Linked DNA regions of Homo sapiens: region 2 is linked to region 1. The links are contacts of gene promoters, found by promoter capture Hi-C in blood cells and fetal thymus (Javierre and others, 2016). All regions are on one chromosome and are shown on one strand. The core of a region is centred on a gene start or on the middle of the fragment in contact, and the rest is flanking DNA. Distances in the headings are between cores, read along the strand shown.

What was found. Contacts are between HindIII fragments. The CHiCAGO score rates a contact against its expected background, and 5 or more counts as called.
Region 2: a contact is called between a fragment that was not itself captured here and the fragment with the promoter of CCDC93 in region 1, in 2 of 17 cell types (naive CD8 T cells and naive B cells). The highest score is 6.7, in naive CD8 T cells.

The regions. Positions count from the first base shown.
Region 1 is chr2:118,011,550-118,015,991 of GRCh38, forward strand. It overlaps CCDC93 (CCC complex scaffolding subunit CCDC93), which reads right to left and starts at 2,521. Exons shown (of 24, transcript NM_019044.5): 1 at 2,405-2,521. The coding sequence starts at 2,446. RefSeq lists silencers at 2,009-2,058, 2,529-2,728. The HindIII fragment of the contact is 9,438 bases long and covers 1-4,442 here.
Region 2 is chr2:117,792,739-117,797,180 of GRCh38, forward strand. No RefSeq gene overlaps it. Among named protein-coding and RNA genes, the nearest start is that of DDX18, 20 kb to the right of the region's middle. The HindIII fragment of the contact is 7,003 bases long and covers 1-4,442 here.

The sequences.
Region 1 (4,442 bases), core at 1,271-3,770:
TCAAGTCAGCAGAAAAAGAAAATGAGATAATATAAGTACTTTCTTAAAACTTCTGGGGTGTAAAACAGGAACACTTCATTTGTTCAATCATTTATTATGAAAACATGAGAAGAAGACAAAAAAAACCAAAAAAAAATAGGATCATCACTGCCTCAACACCTATCTAATGGACACCCACTGGCCACCCCACCACAGATGCAGGGCCCAGGCTTCCATCCACTCACCCCTAGCATGGAGAAGTTTACTTTTGCAATATAACTTGTGAAGTAATTTTGGCACAAGACACTAAATGGGAATGTATGACTCCAAATTCACTTAGCAGATTAACACTGAAATCAAATGGAAAAGGGCCACTGTCTGATCTGCTGGGAATGAAAGACCCTCTCTTGAAGCAATAAAAATCCACCAGGCTGGTTAATACATCCAGTTGTTGAAGCTAAATTTCTGACAAAGACAAACAACAATGAGCTCTTACACAAAGCCCAATAAACTTTCAATTTCCGTCCACTATAGTTGTTGTAAGCTGGAAGGCAGGCCAAGTCTAGCTATCTTTGTAAAGGGTTAAAAAGAATGAATTCGGGCAGGGCAGTGGCTCACATCTGCAATCCCAGCTACTGGGAAGCCTGAGGCATAAGAATTGCTTGAACCTGGGAGGCAGAGGTTGCAATGAACCGAGCTCACGCCATTGCACTCCAGCCTCGGTGACAGAGTGAGACTCTGTCTCAAAAAAAAAAAAAAGAATGAATTTAATGAATTAACTGGTCTAGTGACATCCTAATAACACAGACTATCCATATTTATATTTACTAGCTTCTGAACTAAATGATGATAAGTTATTGCTTGACCTGGTGAGTGTGGCCTCTTAGCAGTCAGTGAAAGTTTAAACGAAGGACATACAGCAGCAGGTTGCTCTTCATTAATTAATTTATTTATTTTCCCCCCAGAAAGACCTCCACTGATAGTACTGTGGAATATTGGGTTGGACGGATTTAAAGTAGAACGTGGGAGACCAGACAGAAGTCTACAGCAAAAGGCCAGGCAAAAACTTGATGAGAGCCTAGAATACAGAAGTGGCAAAAAAGAAAACTTCAAATGTCACAGTACAAATCCTATTGTTCACTATCCTGGGTCCCATCCCAGGCAACGTGCATGTAAGATTTTACCTAATACAGGGGTTCTGACAACATTATGCTTGTCAGGTTTTCTTAAGACAACAAAATGGACTTGCATTCGGGGAGCACACACTGACAAACAAATCTGTCCTTTCAGACTATATATATTCCCAGCTTCTGGACACAGAACACAGTGATCCCTCAATTAGTGGATACTTGTGATATGAAAGAACTGAGGATTTGGGAGGAATGCAGAGGAGTAACATTGGTCACTGGCAGGTAAGTGTGAAGGGACGACTCACCACGTCAAGCAAGCAGTCACCCTGCCCAATGCCTGCTCCAGAACCTTAGGAAAAAGGCAGAGGTGCGGCGTGGCTTCCATTTCTCTCCAGAATCCAGTAAACTAGACTAGCCTTTGAGTAAAATCAACTGAAAGGGACGACAGATGCAAACTACCTATGAGATGCTAAGTGGTATTTGCAGCCAAAAGAAAATGAATACACTTTCCCTGTATTCCCAGCAAACGTGGAAATCCGCAAACCACTCATGACCCCCTCCCTAGCACTAAGTGAGTACTTAACAAACACCTTTGGAAAAGAACCCCGCCCTCTTCTGGAGAAGCCGCAGCCTTTCCGCCCAGAGCCGGGTCCCCCGCCACACAGCACCCCTGGAGTGCGTCCCACCCCGAACGCCCCGGCGCGCTGACCCAGCGGGACACCTCCCTGGTGCGCGCAAGTCTCCCAAACTTCCTCCCGCCGCCCCGGCCCGGGTCCACGCAAGGAGGGTGGCATTCCCTCCCGACAGCAAGGCGGGTGGGGCGGGCCGCCGGGACTCTGCGGGGTGGCGGTAGACGTCCCAAGGTCACCACCCGAGCCCGAACCGCCTCGGAGAGCGGTCTCGTGACTCCAGCGCCCAGCAGCCTCGGCCCTCGGGGCTAGCCCTGCGGCGCGGGGTGGGGGAGCCCGTCCCGGACAGGGAGAAAGGTGGGAGCCCAGGACCCCGCGGCGCGTGGGGCTGCGTCAGAGCAGGTGTCGGGCTAGGAAGGCCACCTGCGCCCCAAGAGACCCGGGAGCGGCTTAAGTTTGTCCTCACCCGCCCGCCGCCCCCTGCCCATGCAGGGGTACCTGCTCCCCGCCTCCAAGAAGAGGGTCGGCGCTTCCCTGAGGTGGATACGCCTGAGGAAGGGGGCGGGGCGCCCCTAACGCACCCAGGGCCCGCTCAGCCCGCCGCCCCGCGGCTCGGCCCTCTCTTCAGGAACCCCGACGTGTCAGGGAAGGAGGAGGCGTTCTTACCTCCGGGAGACCCTGGCCCTCCGGCCCCCTGGGCAACCCCATGATCCGACCGGGCTGTCGTAAGGCGAGAGCGAAGCCCGCCAAGCGTCCGGAGGAAGCTGTCCCTGCCGCGGAGCTGCTACCGGGGTGGAGTACAAAGCGGAAACTCCCTCTGCCGCCGCCGCCGCCGCCGCCGCCGCCTGCCCGAAGCGCCGCAGCCGGGCAGAGCATGCGCGCTGGGGCCGGAGCGCGGCGCCACTGCGCCTGCGCCACAGCAGCCCGGGGAGAGGTGGGCTGGGCTGCAGGTCCTGGCGTTGTGCTGGATCATCGCGCCCGTACTCTGAAGTTTTCTCCGTGGCGCTCTTTGAGAGGGGTTCCTCCTGCATCTTGAGAATATTTTGCATTTCGGCTCCCTTCTCTTCTCGCTGCCATCGGATGCCCCAAATAGGTCCTGTCCCCTCGGTGAATCAGACTTCGGAAACCGCCTCGCTTCAGGGTCAGAGTCCAAGTACAGATGAGCTTGAGGATTCTGAATGCACGCCCGGCTCTAGACCTTACAGACACACGCTTGGACAGACTTCTCCATATACGACCCAGGAACGGACCCCTTGAGAAGGGATTCTTCAAGCCCGCTGCCCTCTCCAGCGTCCTGGCCAGTGGCATCGCGTTCCCAGGAAACCTCGCTTCAGATATTGCCCACCACCCCGCCCTATTCACGGTTCCTGGGTCTTCCTGGAGGAATGACATCTCAGAGAATGCGGACTCCTATGTTCATGTCATTTGAGCCGCCGCGTCCCTTATTTGATGTACCCCTTGTTGGTCCCGGAGGATGGCAACTAGACAAAAGGTCACAGGCCCCCACACCCGCTCCATAACGGCTTCTTGGCTTTTTGTTTCTTTTAAGCAATGAGGAAAGAGATGACTTTCGTGAAAACTTTTGCTGGAGAAGAGATCCTTCCCTCTGTATATGTGTGTGGGATGGGAAGTGTCAGACTCAGACCTTTAGTTCCTTGAGATCAAAAAGGTTTCGTGTTTGCTTTCGTCTCTTCTTTGCATCCCTAGCGTCTTTAAAAGAGTAGGCAGGCGCGGTGGCACATGCCTGTAATCCCAGCACTTTGGGGGTCGAGGCGGGAGTATCACTTGAACCTAGGAGTTGGAGACCAACCTGGGCAACATAGTGAGACCTCCATCTCTACAAAAAATAAGAAAATTAGCCCGGTGCCAGTGGTCCCAGCTAGCCGGTAGGCTGAGGTGGGAGAATTGCTTGAGCCAGGAAGGTTGAGGTTGCAGTGAGCTATGATAACACCACTGCACTCCTGCTTGGGTGACAGAGCAAGACCCTGTCTAAAAACTATATATATATACGTGTATATATATATATGTGTGTATATATATATACGTGTATATATGTGTGTATATATATACGTGTATATATATATGATGTTTTCTATTTTATTTTATTTTTGCACCTTTTGTACTCCTCCTGGAGTTCATCCTGACAGACAGAGGTTTGTCTGGAGCCAGAGCTCACAAATAGTTGGAACTGCCCTAAGGATGCCATTTTGTTCTTAAATATAACTAGCAAATATTACTCAAAGCTGTGCACGATCCCCAAACCCTGGTCCCCAATAATTTGAATAATCTGAATATGCAAGTTAAGGTATTGAGATGGGAACCCTCCTGTGTGGTATATCTTGCTCTTATCCTTTGTGAAGCCAATAAACTTCAATTTCTACTCTCATAACTTCCCAAATGTGTTGTTTTTGTAGTTTTAAAACTGTCATTCACTGAAATGGTATAGGTTGATGGGGAATGGAGAGTGATAATAATTTGTGGCCACTGTTGAGTGACCAGACAGGTACTGATGCCTAGGAACAGGTAGTAAGATCTCACATAGCAGGCAAGCCTAAACAGCTGTATATAATAGCAGCCTGGAGAATAACAGGACTCAGGCCACACCCTGAGTTCCCTGTTATAATGCTTTTGCAATGTTTTAAATAAGCATGAGTAGCTAACTTCCTCAGTAAGAAACTGTCCTTCCCGAGCGCGGTGGCTCATG
Region 2 (4,442 bases), core at 530-3,029, 220 kb before region 1:
GACCTTATAATCTTCCTCATTATAAGTGAAATACAGCTAACTCTCTCCCCTCAACACACTTCTTACTATATTGGAGGAGATATTTATCAAACCACATAATTATGCCCCAACTTATTGAAAATGTTGGCATTAGGTAACAGGTCCAAGAGCAAACAGACGAGATTGAAGAAGTAGGATACAGACATCCTTATAAAATTAAAAATAGGCAGATAATAAGTTATTTAAATGAAAAGCAAGACAATTAATGTGTCTGAGAAAGACAAAAATCTACATGTCTCTGTAAGGATAATATTTGCGTGGATACAATGAAGAGGGCATGAATAATTAATAATTAAAAATAGTAACATAACTCTATCAAGAAGGATTAAGATGAAGACTTATTAAAGGGACGAAAAGTGTCCTATAATTATATAAAGTCAAAAAAATCTAGATATTTAAGATACAGCAATAAATGAACTACTTAGAAATATGATATTTACTTAGAATTTAAAAGAAAGAGCAGAAAGTTAAAGCAAGTTTCCACTGTGATGAAGACTGGAGTGAGAGATTTATTTTTTCCCTTGTAAATGTCACAGTACTTTTTATTTTTATTTTTACAAGTATTATCTTGATAACTTTTTTTTTGTTTTTGAGATAGGGTCTCACTCTGTCACCCAGGTTGGAGTGCAGTGTGTGATCATAGCTCATTGCAGCCTCAACATCCTGGGCTCAAGCAATCCTCCCGCCTCAGCCTCCCAAGTAGCTGAGATTACAGTCGCTCACCACAACACCAGGCTAATTTTTTTTTTTTTTTTTTTTTTTTTTTTTTGGTAGAGACAGGGATTTGCCATGTTGCCCAGACTTGTCTCGAATTCTGGACTCAAGAGATCTGCCTACCTCGGCCTCCTAAAACGCTGAGATTACAGGCATGAGCCATTGAACCTGACCTCTTGATAACTTTTTAATATTTACATTTCTAAGGAGATCTCTAATCAAGCACTATGAGCCACGTGAACTTTTAAATCACGTATTTATTCAATTCTGAGCCCTGTTAAAAGTATATGATTTGCTGGGCGTGGTGGCTCACGCCTGTAACCCCAGCACTTTGGGAGGCAGAGGCGGGTGCATCACCTGAGGTCAGGAGTTTGAGATGAGCCTGGCCAACATCGTGAAACCCCATCTCTACTAAAAATACAAACGTTAGCCAGGCGTGGTGGCAGGTGCCTGTAATCCCAGCTACTTGGGAGGCTGAGGCAGGAGAATCACTTGAACCCGGGAGACAGAGGTTGCACTGAGCCGAGATCATGCCATTGCACTCTAGCCTGGCAACAGAGCGAGACTCTGCCTAAAAAAAACAAACAAATAAACAAGCAAAAACAAATTATATGATTTAATATATTGTTCTAGTCACAAAAATCCAAATTCTCAAGACTGCACATACTGTACAGAACTTGAGCGATGATGGATGTATTTTCTCAGACTTTTGTTTAGGAGCAGACTGTGGACTAGAAATTTTAAACCCAGAGCCATAATGACTTAATGGCAAACTACATATTTCTAGGTGACTTCTTGGCCATAAGTTACTTTAGGTACTGAAAAGGGTGAGCTAGGTCTGCAGGTTTAGTCCATAGTTCTGTGTGTATTTGAGAGAGAGAAAGGGAGAGAATCCCTTACCATGATTCCTTAAAACATTTCTTTTTGGTAGCTGAATAGGTATAAATAATTGAGGTGCACATTGTTGATGGAAAAGAGATTGTAATCCTTTTTTTGAGAACCTTCATATTAAAAAAAAAAACAGAACAGCTTATCATAGAAAAGTCCTCTACCCTAGGGAAAATTATGATTTTAAAGATTATGAACCTGTCAGTCTATAAGTTATGAGCTAGAGGCAGCATCTGAAGTCTTGATTAATCTGCTCATTATTCAGTTGACCCTACTTGCTAGCCTTGAAAAATCAGTAGTGCTAATGTTACTTCAAGTAGAAAAACATGGGAGTCACTTCTCAACTGCAAGAGTCTGTGAAGTTTTCTTAATGGTGAAATCTGTACAGAAGTGATCTACTAAAATGGGTCCTTGGTACTTTATGGCTTAAAGTCTGTGCTTCCAAAAGGCTCTATTCTTCTCCCGCCCCTTGGAGAATTTCAAGCCAAGGTTTCTGAGCTGTACTGTGTGACTCACATGTCTGTATGAAAGGAGGCATGCCTATAGCCAAGAATCTAAGCAGGACTGAGAGCATTTTCATTCATTCATTCATTTTCTATTGAATCTCAACCATGTGTCAGCCACCATACTGCATGCTAGAAAAACAAAACAAATATAATAAGATATGTTCCCTGTGGCACCACGAGCCCAGAACCCACAAAGCACATCTTTGACGAGCTCTCCAGCTACTTTCAGCCTGCTTAAGGCTTTCTTTACAAACACAAAACAGCAAACCAGAGAAACACCTTAATGATACCTGCCAATGTTTATTGAGCTATTTTCTGTATACTAGGATTGTTCTAAGCACATGACACATATTGACTCATTTCACTTTCTCAGTGATCCAATGAGGTAGTTACTAACATCATCCCCATTTTATAGATAAGAAAATGAAGCACGAAAATTTAAGTAACTTGTCCCAAGTTTTTATAGCCTGGCTCCAGGTCTTGCAGGTATAATTATTCCTTTCACACAGGTGTAAGGCAAACCAAATGAAAAGGGAAAAAAGAATAAAGAGGCATTCTTCTTTCATAGTCACAGAGGTAAGTGACTATGTGAGTGAGTTTAACCCAAGATAAAGGGAATCAATAATGGCCAGTTACCTGGACATGCTGTCAGCTAATACCACCACATGCATAGTTTAGGCCTTCCTTTGCCTCCACCTTTATCCTTACTCTAGGAAGTCTTATGCATACGAATTCACAGACAGCTATTTGCAAAAAACAAGCCTATGGGAATGAAGCACTAAATATAATACTTTTTAATATTAGGTTGAGCTGAGAAGACAACAAAAATAGAAAATAACTAATGATGTACACTTTTTAGTACCATTTGCTCCATTTCAATGCCTTATCTAAGGAACCTAGAGGGAGATGAACCACTACAGGGGTTAGAGGGCCCAAAATGTGTAGATAATATTGATGCTATAGACTCACAGGTAACCTCTACAGCATGGGACAATGAGGCATGTACATGACAGGAAGACACATTGAGAATGCAAATGTGGGGACGTGGGGGTCAATTAGAAGATGCAGGTGAATCTCAATAAGAGCCACCAATACCTATGGAAATTTCTTAGAATTGAGCCCCTTGTTGGATGTGAAGGACCTCTTCAAGGAGAACTACAAACCACTGCTCAATGAAATAAAAGAGGATACAAACAAATGGAAGAACATTCCATGCTCATGGTTAGGAAGAATCAATATCGTGAAAATGGCCATACTGCCCAAGGTAATTTACAGATTCAATGCCATCCCCAACAAGCTACCAATGACTTTCTTCGCAGAACTGGAAAAAACTGCTTTAAAATTCATATGGAACCAAAAAAGAGCCCGCATTGCCAAGATAATCCTAAGCCAAAAGAACAAAGCTGGAGGTATCACGCTATCTGACTTCAAACTATACCACCAGCCTACAGAAATCCAAAACAGCATGGCACTGGTACCAAAACAGATATGTAGATCAATGGAACAGAACAGTGGCCTCAGAAATAACACCACTCATCTACAAACATCTGATCTTTGACAAACCTGACAAAAACAAGAAATGGGGAAAGGATTCCCTATTTAATAAATGGTGCTCAGAAAACTGGCTAGCCATGTGTAGAAAGCTGAAACTGAATCCCTTCCTTACACCTTATACAAAAACTAATTCAAGATGGATTAAAGACTTAAACATAAGACCTAAAACCATAAAGGCCCTAGAAGAAAACCTAGGCAATACCATTCAGGACATAGGCATGAGCAAGGACTTCATAACTAAAACACCAAAAGCAATGGCAACAAAAGCCAAAATTGACAAATGGGATCTAATTAAACTAAAGAGCTTCTGCACAGCAAAAGAAGTGACCATCAGAGTGAACAGGCCACCTACAGAATGGGAGAAAATTTTTGCAATCTATCCATCTGACAAAGGGCTAATACCCAGAATCTACAAAAAACTCAAACAAATTTACAAGAAAAAACTAAACAACCCCACCAAAAAGTGAGCGAAGGATATGAACAGACACTTCTCAAAAGAAAACATTTATGCAGCCAAAAGACACATGAAAAAATGTTCATCATCACTGGTAATCAGAGAAATGCAAATCAAAACCACAATGAGATACCATCTCACACCAGTTAGAATGGTGGTCATTAAACAGTCAGGAAACAACAGATGCTGGAGAGGATGTGGAGAAATAGGAATGCTTTTACACAGTTGGTAGGAGTGTAAACTAGTTCAACCATTGTAGAAGACAGTGTGGCAATTCCTCAAGGATC